Regions from separate parts of the Homo sapiens genome. Here region 1 is linked to region 2. The links are contacts of gene promoters, found by promoter capture Hi-C in human tissues and cell types (Jung and others, 2019). All regions are on one chromosome and are shown on one strand. The core of a region is centred on a gene start or on the middle of the fragment in contact, and the rest is flanking DNA. Distances in the headings are between cores, read along the strand shown.

Region 1 (7,246 bases), core at 4,245-6,744, 380 kb before region 2:
GCTTAGGTTTTCATAACTAAAGATGGAAATAATTCTTATCTTAATGAGAGAAAATACTGAGCAAGAGCTACATGAAACCATTATTCTTGTAGAAATACTTAAAAACGAATCATGGAAGTTTTGAGCTAAATTTTTTTTCCAATTAAAAAGAGCAATTTTGGCAGATGAAATTAAATAAAAAGTGTGATCAACTAGGAAAGGAAAAATTTGTTTGAAGATCCCTTTAGGATCATTTGCAGAATAGCTATGGAAAGTGAAGCTCCAGAACAGGAGAAAAGTTCATGAAACCCTACAGGATAGACATAGCCAAATTGTTGGTTGCCTGATCAAAGGGCAGTATGAAATGATGCATTTTATTATGCTTAAAAGGCATATGTGAGTTGTTCAGATATTGAAGCTAATCTTTGCCCTTACAGTTAGTCTGTTATATGCCTTGGTCATTTTGTTGGCCTTCATTCAGAGTATTTAAAATGATGATTTCTGTAAAAGTTATCACCTGGTTAAAAGATTGATGGTATAATAATATAAGCAGAACTTTTACAAGATGTGAATTTTTAGTGAGCATTAACATTTGGAGTCATCTATGACAAAACTCCACAGTAGCCCATGGTGTCCTCTGTGTCATTTACCAAGAACATGTCAACTCAAATTGTTTTTCAGGGTTCACTGAGGTAGTAGAAAAACAAGGGGGTAGGGGGAGATTTAGCTTAGGAAAATCAATGGTTAGAATATGTATCTTTTTAGACAATTTAATAATAAAAAAATTCATTTTCAGAACATGCTGTAGTACATAGATGTTGGCTTAGACAGGGAAGATGTTTGCATTTGGAATTCAAGATTAAATTATTTTTCTGTATGGAGAGCAAAGGCATTGTGGTAAAGAATAAAAAGCTGGATTAGGTGAATGAATTCATTTTCCTTACTGATTAAAAAAAAAAAAAACACATAAAGTTAGCTTATTTAATTGCCAGTTTTTCCAAGGCTGAACTTGATAAGAGAGCAGGTACAAGGCAGTGGAATTTTTCTTTTTTAAACTACATATGATGCGATCTAAGTATTAATCAAATTTGATAATGGAATGAAGATATTTGTATGAAATCATGAGTCCTTTGAGACTTATTTATGTAATAATCAATTATAATGGTGGTAAAATAATGTGACTGATAAGTTATTTTCCTTTGACAGTTACTTCTCAGAGACAGTAAAATGGAATGACCAATGGATCAGAGATTCTTTAAGTCAAAGGGCACAAGCATTTCAACTTCCCAGGAAAATGACACACTTAAAATTTCCACGATCAGGAGCCTAAGTATTGCACCGTATTGCCTCCTTTGGGCATCTCACTTCAGCATCTTGTTGGTTCATGTATCATTTGTAAACATCAAACACACACACACATACCCCCATAGGATTTAAAAAAACAACAACAACATGGTGTTGTGTTTATAGACTTAAGTCAAGATTCTTGAAATAGTGTGACACTAGAAGAGAAAGTATCCAGATGTTGCATTTGATAAATAGTCTGGCTTTCTCTAAAGGATAGACTTCAGGCAAAAGCATCATCCTCCCTAACAGTGAGACAGGTAGGGCTGTTTTTCTTTTCCTTCACTGTAATATTTTAGACAAATACATTGTTGAAAAGAATGTAAAATTTATATGAATTTTAAGAAAACATAAAACTTCAAATAAGTTTCATGGGTTACTTCTGAGCATGCCCTCTCCTCCCAAAATCCTTGGACTTTTAATTCATAGCTTCAACCCATCTCCTCTACAGAGAAAGATTCTTTGGTAGATAATTTTTAGAAACACTGCCCCTTTCAAGAAATCCAGTTCTCCTTTAAATACATTTTATCTTTACTGAGCTTCTTTGTTTTGTTTTACAATTCCTATGGAATAAACTCTGCACCTTTTAAGGGTATTAGTGAGGTAGTTACTTACAAGTCTTTGAAAGATTATTTTGTTTTCTTTTGCAGGTGATCACTCTTTTTATCTGAGTTGCAGATGTGGTGGAAAATACAGTGTTTCCAAGGATGAAGCGGAAGAAGTTAGCCTGATTTCTTGTGATACATGTTCACTAATTATAGAACTCCTTCATTATAACTAAAATTGTTCACAACTTGAAATGCTTTAACTGTGGTATTGAGACATGATGAGAAGCCGTTGAGCTTTGTCCATTCAAGGAAATGGATTATTTGTCAGCCCGATTATTTGCAAAGAAAATATACAATTATCAAGCAGAGACCACCTCAGATTAATAGAGAATGAATATAATTATTTATTTGTATTTATAATTTATATTTACAAGTTGTCACAAAAATAGATTTGATTATATTTGGTGAATTCCCATCTGAGAACTTTATTATGTCATTTTTTTCCATGACACAAAATAAGAATTTTCTTAATATGAGCATGTCTCCTCTTTTCAGTGGGTAACAGTATCATCATATTCCTTTATAGTTACTAAGTTTCTGGTCTAACCGATAACGTTTCTAGTTGCTAAAGTTATGGGGCTGTTGTACACCTAGAATCTTTGTGAATAATGTGAGGCCAGTTCTTCCATAAGGAAGGCTGGTTATGGATATTCATAAGGTTATTTCAAAGTTAATAAAGACAAAGTGGCAACTGTAGAAAGTGTTGCCTCCAATCTTGGTCCGTATTTCCAAAGCTTGTAAACACTGCCATCTTCAAATTTAAATGTAATTTAGGAAATGGAAGCTTTTAATTTTAATTTCTTTTTTCTAAGACAGAGTCTCACTCTGTCGCGCCAGCTGGAGTGCAGTGCCATGATCTCAGGTCGCTGTAACCTCCGTCTCCTGGGTTCAAGTGATTCTCCAGCCTCAGCCTCCCGAATAGCTGGGATTACACGTGCCCACCACCATGCCCAGCTAATTTTTGTATTTTTAGTAGAGATGGGGTTCCACCATGTTGGCCAGGCTGGTCTCAAACTCCTGACCTCAGGTGATCCACCTGCCTCGACCTCCCAAAGTGCTAGGATTACAGGTTTGAGCCACCGTGCCTGGCCTAAGTTTTGTTAATAGAGATGGGATTTCATCATGTTGGCTAGGCTGGTCTTGAACTCCTGGCCTCAAATGATCCGCCCACCTCAACCTCCCAAAGTGCTGGGATTGCAGGCGTGAGCCACCATGCCTGGCCAGAAGCTTTTTTAAAAATAATGACTTGGAAGTTGGTGCATTATTTCCCCTTTTATTTTGGAGTGTTGATATAATATTGGGGCCAGGCATGGTGGCTCACATCTGTAATCCCAGCACTTTGGGAGACTAAGGCAGGCGGATCACCTTTGGTCAGGAGTTCAAGACCACCCTGGCCAACATGGTGAAACCCCATATCTACTAAAAATAATTTTTTTAAAAATTAGCCAGTCACGTTGGTGTCTGCCTGTGGTCCCAGCTACTCGGGAGGCTGAGGCACAAGAATCACTTGAACCCAGGAGGCAGAGTGAGCCGAGGTTGTGCCACTGCACTGCAGCCTGGGCTACAGAGAGCAAGACTCTGTCTCAAAAAAAATAAAATAAAATAAATAAAAAAAGATATAGTATTAATGCCTGTATTTATGAAGACAGGGCCATTGCACTGCTGCTATGCTGAAATGAACTTTTATAAAGTATTATTGACTATAGCCAACTACAGATGGCATATGCCTTAAAGATGCATTTTTCTATGTATTTAATATTTTGTGTACAGTAAAAGTCAGAACTCATTTAAAGAACTTTAAGGGATCCTTTAGAAACATTTTTACTTAATTTCAAATGAGTGGGCTGAGCATGTAGACTAGCAGCTTTTTATCAAACCTGGCATTGTCAGGTTGAACTTATAAATACGAATAGTTACTACTCTGACTTGTAAATGTAGCTGCTAAAGTATGAGGTATATTTAAGAAGAATAGATTAGTTTCATTATACCTATAAGAACAAGAATTCAAAAGTGAGGTAGTCATCCAGGTTCCCCCTCCCACAATATTTTTGTATCATAAAATTTAGATGACTTTTTTGGGTTACATTTTTATCCATATATTTTGAACTAACAGAACTTGGCAGAATGTGTGTTGAATATTCTTTACATTTAACAATTAAAAACAACTAAAACTGAATAGCAAATAGTTTATTGGTAAGTACACGGTTTCAACGGGAGTAATAAATTCACATGAAAAGGAGACAATAATCAAGTCAAAAGAATAAATGCTTACTAATCATCAGAAAATCTGTGGCCATTAGGGCTGGCACGTAAAAATCCAAAATCACTCAGAGGCCAAATCTGTAAAATCAAAATGAGGTTGAAGACAATTAGTGAAAGTAATGTTATAGTATCATCATATTCCCTTTTGCTATCTGTCCCTTTTCTCTATGCCAGATAAACACTTTCTCCTTACTCATCAATCAAGAATAAAATTTTCTACATCAAAGTAAGACTTGAGAAAATAAACTTATGTGTATATATGTTTAAACTCCAAAGTTTGGGACATTCAAACAATGTACATGAAATTATATGTGTGTGGTGTGTGAATAAATATGTATGAATATATGGTCTGTGTTTTCTTTTACTACTTGCAAGTAAGAGTTAACTGTGTACTTTCAACCAAAGGGGCTTAGGTTTAAGTACTTGAATATGGCATCTGTTTTAAATGTAAAGAATCCTGTAAATTATCCAACAGCTCCATGTATTCATGAATGTTTTTCTCCTCACTGATTGTGATAAAAAGGAGGGGCCAGTGAAAACAATCTTCCCTAATAATCATACATTCACAATAAGTCTGTGACTCACAGTACTCAACTGGGGTATCCCTACTTTACAGGTAGTTTGAATCTAGACTGTTCTTCTGCACATGCTTATTAAAATATGCCCTGGGCAGGATGTGAACATGGTTTTAAGAGTTGTACAAGAGAGAACTGAACTTTTGGAAATTCAAATTAAAGTTTTCTTAGGCTATAGCTAAGGTAGTTTGGATTTTATTATTATCTCTATGGGAGCAGGGGCAATGGGGGAATAGGTTTGCATATGGCTATTAAGTTAAGGCCAACAGGTTCAAAAAATATATTCGGTGCAACAGTTAAGTACACTGACAGCTTGAAGATTTCAGAGATCATTTTGAGAGAAACTTTTTCTAGCTCAGAAAATAAACCTTACATTTTAAGCAGAAAATGGTACCTTAAAGAAGATTCGTCCTCTTATTAGTCCATATGGAATAGGTCCATAGCACCTGGAATCTGTAGAATTCTGTAGATTGTCACCTTCTAACCAAACATGACCCATTGGCACCTAGAATTAGAGAAGAAATGCAGCCTCTTAAAGATAAAACCTAATTTGGGTACTATAATTAAAAAGCATGTCATTCAGAGGTAGGGAGAAATGTCCTAAGGCTCTCTTTTATAGAATAGATACAAATCCTAATATTGCATTTTTGCTTTTATTTCTTGCACAATAACTTTTACTAAATATCAAAGGTTTCAACTTTTTTAAAAACCTATCATCTTTTTTTGTCATATGGTTCCCAAATATTAATTTGTTATACAAACCCCAAACTGAGGTTATAAGAGATCAAAATAGTGTGACAGGGTCATTAATTTAATAGACTTCAAAAGAGGTCATTAGGATGCTGACTGAAAATGCGCCCTTGTGTCTCAATAACAGTATAAGCAGGGCAGCCACTCACTCAGCAACATCCTGGGGCCAATACCAAAGCCAAACCTATTAGAATGCTCATGATGAACTAAATGGTAATTGATTGTGACATCAATTACAAATAATCTCATCATTTTATTGGAGTAGGCTTGTCAGAATTCTAATTAACATCCCTGTTCTGCCTTTGTACAGGCCATATCTTCAATGCATTATACTTCAATAATGACCATGAAGAACCAGAAGGACCTATTATAAAATCATCAGTTGTAAAATTAATGATGGTGACCTTCTCCTAAATGAAAAGACTATCTCCTATAATGTTCTATGTATAAACTGGTAAATAACAAGATTTTTACTCAGTGACAATCATAAGCATATTTAGAACAGAATACATTGTTTTTTTTAAGCCACCTGCAATATGAGACATTTGCCTATTTCTGTTCAATGTAAACTAAAAAACTTACTTTCCAGCAACAATCTTTAAAATTGCTTTTTAAAAGTTTTTATTTTACAGTTTTGTTATCTAAGACAGTTGAATTATTGACCAGACCAAAATGATCTATGTATGGGGAAGGAATTTATTTTCACTATTCTTTTGACTGGTTTTACTTGTAAACCTTTTATGAAGAAAAATACACTACTGGGTTTAATAAGAGATAATGCAACTTTTTTTTTTAATCACAAATTACTTTCTTGAAAAGTAAATGTATACAAGAATGTAAAATTTGAATTTCACTTACGTAAGCGATTTTAAGATTCTGGAAAGTCTTATGTACAAATATTTGCCAAAAATCTCCAAATTAACTCTGCGTTTAGATACATTTAAACATTAAATCTATTTGTAGAAAAAGGACATAAGTTTACTGAAAGAATATCAGAAACTGTATGATCATTCACTTTTATTACTGGAACTAGTTTGTCCAAGGGCCAATAGCAAGGCCACTTCCTTGCTATCTAATAAAATAGACATATGTGCAGTGAAGTGTAAGACTGCTCTAGTAGGAAAGTGTGTACATCACAGTCATCAAAAAAGGAACAAAATAATGAATTTGGAAAAGCCATATGTAATTAACATTCTGAAGTGTTATTTGATAAAGCTATAAGGTGAACATCTTTCGTGTCTAAATTTCCATAGTTTCTTCCTAAAATGTGTTTTTTCCTGAGTTCTAAAAACAGGTAATATATATGAATAAATAAAACCATGTAGTTATGGACACCAGTAAAAGTAAAATTAAAACATTATGCAAACTAATAAGGCAACTATCAACAATCTAGGGATATCTTTGTCTGACCATCCCATTGAACCAGGATCAGTGGTTTCTACATTCCATCTCTTCATGAAGCTTTCCCTAAACTTGCCTGCCCTTACCAACCTGATTGTTTCCAATACTTAACACACAAAGTCAGCCTTGCTTGGGGCCCTACATTATAACCTTTAATATTATTTTTAACCTGCTTGGCTTTTCTGTCAGTTTTTACTATTTTATACCAGAATAAACCAACAGGCAGTAATGCCATGATTTGACTTTTATTGCATTTTAGTTTGGTGCAAAAATAACTGCGGTTTTTGCCGCAAAATACATTTAATGGCAAAAACCACAATTACTTTT
Region 2 (5,716 bases), core at 1-2,500:
CCGCTCGGCTCTGAGCTCCCTCGGAGCGCGCGTTCCACCGCCTTGGCCTGGTGGCTTCCTTCCCGGCTCGCGCTAGCTCGCTCTTCCCTCTACCTCCAGCGTGCGGCTGCCTTGCCGACTGACTCCACTCGGGCTGGTGGCGGGCGCGGTGCCCCCCTCGGCGCTCGAGTGCCGGCTGACTCTTCTGCGCCGGAGCCCAGTGCGGCACAAAGCCCGAGGGCCGGCGGGCGGGCGGAGACGCGGCGAGCAGGTTCCCTCGGCGCTCCCTCGGCGAGTCCTCGGAGCGCCCGCTCTCTGCGCGTTCGCTGGGCCTCGGGCTGGACAAAGCAGCCGGCAGCGGTTGCTCTCTGCGGCCGTTCCAGGGCCTTGGGCACCACAGAGCCTCTTCGTCTTTTCCCGCGGGTCGGGAGCATTGGGCGACGCTGGGGCTAGGAGCCGCGGCTGCTGTCGCGCCTGGAGTCTCCCTTCTTCCCGCGAGCTCAGCCCGCGCTGGCGCTGGCGCTGGCGCTGGGGCTGAGCTGGCCGCCCGCCCCGAGCCCTGCGCCGCTCCCGCTCGCCGGCAGTCGCCCTCCGACGCGGGCTTTCGCTGGAAGTAGAAAGTTTGGGCTCCTGCGTGGAAACTTCTCCGGCCCAACTCTCCCGGCGTAGCAGTGGGGGAGGGGACCGGCGAGAGGGGAGGAAGGAAGGGGGGAGGAAGGGGGAGACCTGTCTGAATATTGCAATAAAAATAAAGCGAGAAGAAAGAAGCGGACTCACCTTTATGAGGCATCCTTTCTGGTTGTCACAGCTTCTGTCAAGAGTTTTGTTTGGTTGGGGTTTTTTGTGCTGCTGTTGTTGCTTGAAGACCACAATGGTTTGAAATGACGGTGTTTTAAAGGAGTTGCTGGTGAGAGTTTTCTCCACGGATGTTGCTGGGTTGGTGTGTGAGAGCAATTCTCAGATTCCTGGGAAGGAGACAGAGATTGACAATAAAATGGGCTGTCAGCGGCTGGAGAGTGAGAGATAAAGAGTGTGGGTGAGGGAAGTGGCTGCAGCCAGCACACCTATGCTGATTGGTGATGGCTCAAGTGTGTTAATGTGTGTGTGCCGGCGCCCGGCCTCGCCTCCACCGCTCCTCACTGGCCCATTAGCGAAGCCTGACCTCTGTCATCATCCTCCAGCAAAACACTTCCTCCTGCGCCTGAACCAGAGCGGGAAATGAGGCCGAGCCACGGTTCCCTTTTCAAACCCACTAATCACTCCGCAACATGCAAATGCACCGCTCGCTCTCACACAAAATATTGCTTTATGCAAAGCAGCGCCGGGGCCTCGCGCCAGCCGATTGGATGCTCCCTCTCCCCGCCTGGTGCAATTGGTCCGTTTGTTTGAATATGAATACACTTGTTTTCGGCTCCGCCGGTGGGTCCCGGCTCCTCTCCCCGGCGCAGGGCCCCCGAGCCCGGGCTCTGGCGCTCGCCTGCATCTCCCCGCTCCGCGCACGCCGAGATTCGGCGCGGCCCGCCCTGCTGCCGCGAACTTGAGCGGTCAAGTGAAGGTTTCTGGGTTGGGGGTCGCGCCCCCACTCCCCCTAAGCTGGACTCGGGACTCCCAGTCCTCGGAGGGTGCAAGTTTCTGTGCTGTCCTTTCTTGCCAACTCCAGGACAGCGTGGCCTGCCGCCCCGCCCCCGCCCGCCCCCACCCCATCCCAGCCGGGGCCCCAAGACACAGAGCACAGCGGCGGCCGCACCCCAGCCCACCTGGCCCCTTGGAAGAAGAGGAAAGGGGCGGGAGCGTCACTGGGTCCTGGCAGCTCCATTCCAGCTGCGGAGGCCGCGGCGAAGCCTAGGCCGAGAGGAGGTTGCCGGGCCGAGAACTAAACGAGGCCAGAGGCCTCCCCAGCCCAAGCCTCCAGGGCCTGTCCAAATCCTCCACCCCGCTCTCCCCGCCCTTTCTTCTCTCCTTTCTCCTTTCGGAAGCCGCGGTGCGCAGCGGAGCAGAGGCACAGCTCTGGCTGGAGAGGCCCGAGTAAACACGCCACTTACTTTGTGTACAGAGGGTTCTTGTGAAAAGCCCTGAAGAGTCCTCACCAAACACTCACCAACTTCTCCCACGTGCCATTTGTTGACTAAGTGCGGCTGCTTTTCGCAGCGCCCGAGAGGAGGGGAAGCCAGGGGAGATAAGAGGGGAGGGGGAGTGGAAGCCTGGGTGGGGGGGCGGATGACCAATGCTGGGAGGGATTCTCTCTCTCTCTCTGTGTGTGTGTGTGTGTGTGTGTGTGTGTGTGTGTGTGTCCCACTGGCGATGTCGGTATGTCAGCGTGTGTCGTGTGTGCCACCGGTCATCTGTGTGTGGTGCGTGTGTCTCCGCACCACGACTCCCTCTCCTGGGTCTGCTCAGTCCACGGAGGCAGCTCCCCTTCAGCTGTTGCCAGAAAACCGGGGAGGAAAGTAAGTAAATGGCTTTTCTCTTCTGACCACACACCAGAAGTCCATTTGTTGAATGCCGCACGATTAGGACACACCTCAGTACACTCCAAAGGCGCCCCTCGGAGCCTGCAGTTAAGGTGACAGGAGAGCGAGCGGCTGCCTGGTCCTGCGCTGTCCCGAGCTCTCTCGGCGGCTTCGGGCCACGGAGCCGGGAAGGAGAAGGAAGGCCTGGGCTGCTGTACACACCCCAGGACAGGGCGAGGGGGAATAGGGCTGAAGAGCTGAGGCAGGGAGGCTGAAATGAAGCAGCCGAAGGGTACGCTAGACTCTTCTTGACTTAGGGAAAGTGCTGAAAGTCAGAGCTCATCAATAAAATCTGCGCGACCTGAACTCGCTGCTGACTGGCCGCGTCGCCGCAGCCCCTGGCAGCCGGGACAGTGAGGACGCTGCAAGCCGCCCTGGGCCGCCGGGCCACATGTGGGCCTCACCCTCTCGTTCCTGCCTGGGACCCAGCAGCCCTGCGACCAAGGAGCCCGGGCAGGGCTCCCGGGAAGCAAAGGCCTCCCCGGCCCTAGCCAGAGGTGGGGTCGCATAACCCTCTCCCCTCCCCGGGCTGGGGAGGGCTGCCGGCTCTAACCCTTCCCCGGGAGCTCGCAGCGCCGGGAGGAAACCTGGGTCAGAGGTGAAGGAGGTGGCGCCGGGTGTCCAGGTCCGCGGCCTCCTGGGCGAGGTTTCATTTCGCAGGAGCGCGACTTTCGGAGGATGCCGGCAAGTGGGGCCGCGGCCCTGAGTCCCAGACCAGCGAAAGTCGGCTTTCTCTTTCTCTCTCCTTTTACTTTCCAAGCGAGCATTAAAGAAGCTTGGACTCAAGACTCAAGTCCGCTGTGCATGAGCGAGGGACTTGCGGGGGGGCGGGGGGGGGGGAAGTGATTCTGTCCGAACTGGAGGCGAGTATCATTTTTACAACCTCTCAATTAGCGACCGAGTGGATTAGCACCTTCTTAAGCTTTGCCTCGGAAAGAAGCAGCCGTAATCTTGTTGCTATTTCCCCCCAGGGCACTGGCTCTTTGAATCAGCTCCTTCTCCCACCCCTCCAACCCCCATCTCGCTGCGGAGAAAAGTTTTAACAAAAAATCAGAAAAGGCAAGGAGCGAGGAGTGAATGCCACTGACGTCATTGGGTGGGGAAGGGGGCTCCGGGAAAGACTCCTGGAAACTCCTCCGCACAAACAAAAAACAAAAAGGACTTGGCTGCTTCCCATGTGTCAATATTTGGGGAGGGGAGTTCAACCCCAGAATGAGGCCGAGTTTTCAAAGTTTAAGGAGAGAGGGGTGAGAGTGAGATTTCCTCGTTCTCTCTGGACTGGTCTCAAGGAAGGTGGGGGTGCTGTTCTACCTCGTGGGGAGCCTCACTCCCTCTGCCAAGTACCGGCTCTGGGGGCGAAGCGGCCTAGGGGTGTGGGGGCCGAGACTGAGGTGCGGGCGCGGTTGCCAGAGGTGTGTACAAAACCGAGACAACTCGCAGGTCGCCATTTTAATTGCGGCTACCAACACGCCCGAGGCCCACTTGCTGCCCTCCAAGACGCGGGGGGGCGGCGGGGATTGCGCTTTAGGTTCTGTCTCCTTTCCCCGCCTCCCCACAGGCCCCTGTTCCCCCCTACCCTCCGCCCCCTGTGGCCAGAGGGAGGACCTCTCAGGCCGGCGGGTGCGTTCCCGCGGGGGCCGCCGGGGTCGTCCCACCCGGTAGCGGGGCTGTCTGCGTGGAGGGAGTCCCGCTGGGGGACCGTGGCTCGCCAGAGCCTGCCCAGAGCTTCTAGCCAGTATTGATGCGTCAACATGAGGTGAGGCAAGCATCTCACCCGCACCGATCCCTGGCATTCCCCTGTGCCCACCCCATCAGGCCTTCGGGGAGGCAAAGAAGTGCCCACTTCTGGGGGGAAGTGCCTCCAGCTCCCAGCTTCAGAACCAAGAGCCTCCCATCCGGAGTTCTGACAGTTCTGACACCTCCAAACTCTCTCTTTCCCCGGTCAAGCAGAGGCGCAGCGCCGGCGCGCTGGAAAGGGTGAAGACTGGCATTTTTTGGAGAAGGAAAGTCTTGGCAGACACCTGCGTCACTTTGTAGTGCCCCAAACGTCTCTCTTTTTGCAGACCCTGGGAAGGTGGGATCCCTTGTCCGCGGAGCTGGCAAACGGGTCCAGTGAGCCCTAAAGGCAAAGGCTCCCATCCCGGCCGCCCAGTCCCTGGTGCCTCCCCCACTTCCAGGCCTTTGTCCCTCTCCTTTCTCCAGCAACCTGCCGGTTCCCGCTAACCCGGCAGCCTCGCCGAGCCCAGAGCCTAGAAAAGCCAAGAAGATCCCAGAGCCGCCCCGTGGCACCTTCAGGCTGTGGCCACTGCTCGGCTTGGGGGGAAGCCGCGGTGCCCTCGCCCTTCCTCGCCTCCTGCCAAATGGCCAGTGCTAGGGGCTCCCTGGGTTCAGTCCTCAGTCCTCTTCCGTTCGCTCTGGGAGGCCAGCCTGTCTCTCTCTCTCTCTCTCTCTCTCTCTCTCTCTCTCTCTTTCTCTCTCTGTCTTCTCCCTGCCCACCCCCAAAATACCTTTAAAATAACATTGTCCAGTGGAGTCTCCCAGCAAAGGGATTCCTAGCAGCCCAGCGGGTCAGACTCCCAAGGCTTTGCCTCCCAGTCCCTCCATGCTGTTGTCCAGATAGGAGTTAGGTTTAAAACTCCTGACATGTAGGACAACTGAAATCAGCGGCACTCTCCGATTTTTGCAAATAGGGTTCCTAGAAAAGTTTGCTTTCCATTTCATCACCCTGTGACGATCCCCCCATCTCTCTTTTCCCTGTAACCTCTGCCCCCAAGAGGCAAGAGTTCAGCTTCAAAGGAAAAGCAAGCAAGTCAAGGCCACCTCAGTCCCTTCTCCCTGGATATCCCCTCTCTAAACCGCTGCCTATTCTAAAGGCCAACGACCCGGTCCTGCGATTTGTCCCGTTGTAGACCTGGGAACAGGCAGGCGGGAACTGGGGGCTTTACTGGGGGATTTGAGGCTGGGGAGGGGGAGGGAGCAAATGTCATGGCTGGCTCGCTCAAGCATCCAGGGAACCGAAGCTAAGCGCATCCTGACGGGCTTTTAAAATGACATTGATTAGGACAAGCTGTTCCCAACCCCAGTAAGAGTTAATCTGCCTGTTAATCAAGGCACTAAGGGGCTCAATGCGAGTTTTATTAGCGACAGGAGAACAGAGGCGGCAGCCAGGGATCAAAAGCCGGGATCCCATATATTTGTCAGCGCTATCTCCAAAAAAAAAAAAAAAA

What was found. Contacts are between HindIII fragments. The study calls those that stand out against the background at their distance.
Region 1: a fragment that was not itself captured here is called in contact with the fragment with the promoter of PAX6 in region 2 in 1 of the 25 tissues and cell types used here (lymphoblastoid cells).

What each region holds. Positions count from the first base shown.
Region 1 is chr11:31,428,298-31,435,543 of GRCh38, forward strand. DNAJC24 (DnaJ heat shock protein family (Hsp40) member C24) reads left to right here. Exons shown (of 5, transcript NM_181706.5): 5 at 1,974-4,538. The coding sequence ends at 2,104. IMMP1L (inner mitochondrial membrane peptidase subunit 1) reads right to left here. Exons shown (of 6, transcript NM_001304274.2): 5 at 5,163-5,273; 6 at 4,104-4,271. The coding sequence ends at 4,203. Among named protein-coding and RNA genes, the nearest start is that of DNAJC24, 62 kb to the left of the region's middle. The HindIII fragment of the contact is 5,117 bases long and covers 2,937-7,246 here.
Region 2 is chr11:31,810,072-31,815,787 of GRCh38, forward strand. PAX6 (paired box 6) reads right to left here and starts at 1,251. Exons shown (of 14, transcript NM_001368894.2): 1 at 1,044-1,251; 2 at 757-944. RefSeq lists enhancers at 817-1,386, 1,089-1,146, 2,494-3,462, 5,524-5,716, a promoter at 1,034-1,443 and a silencer at 4,306-4,560. The HindIII fragment of the contact is 12,830 bases long and covers 1-5,716 here.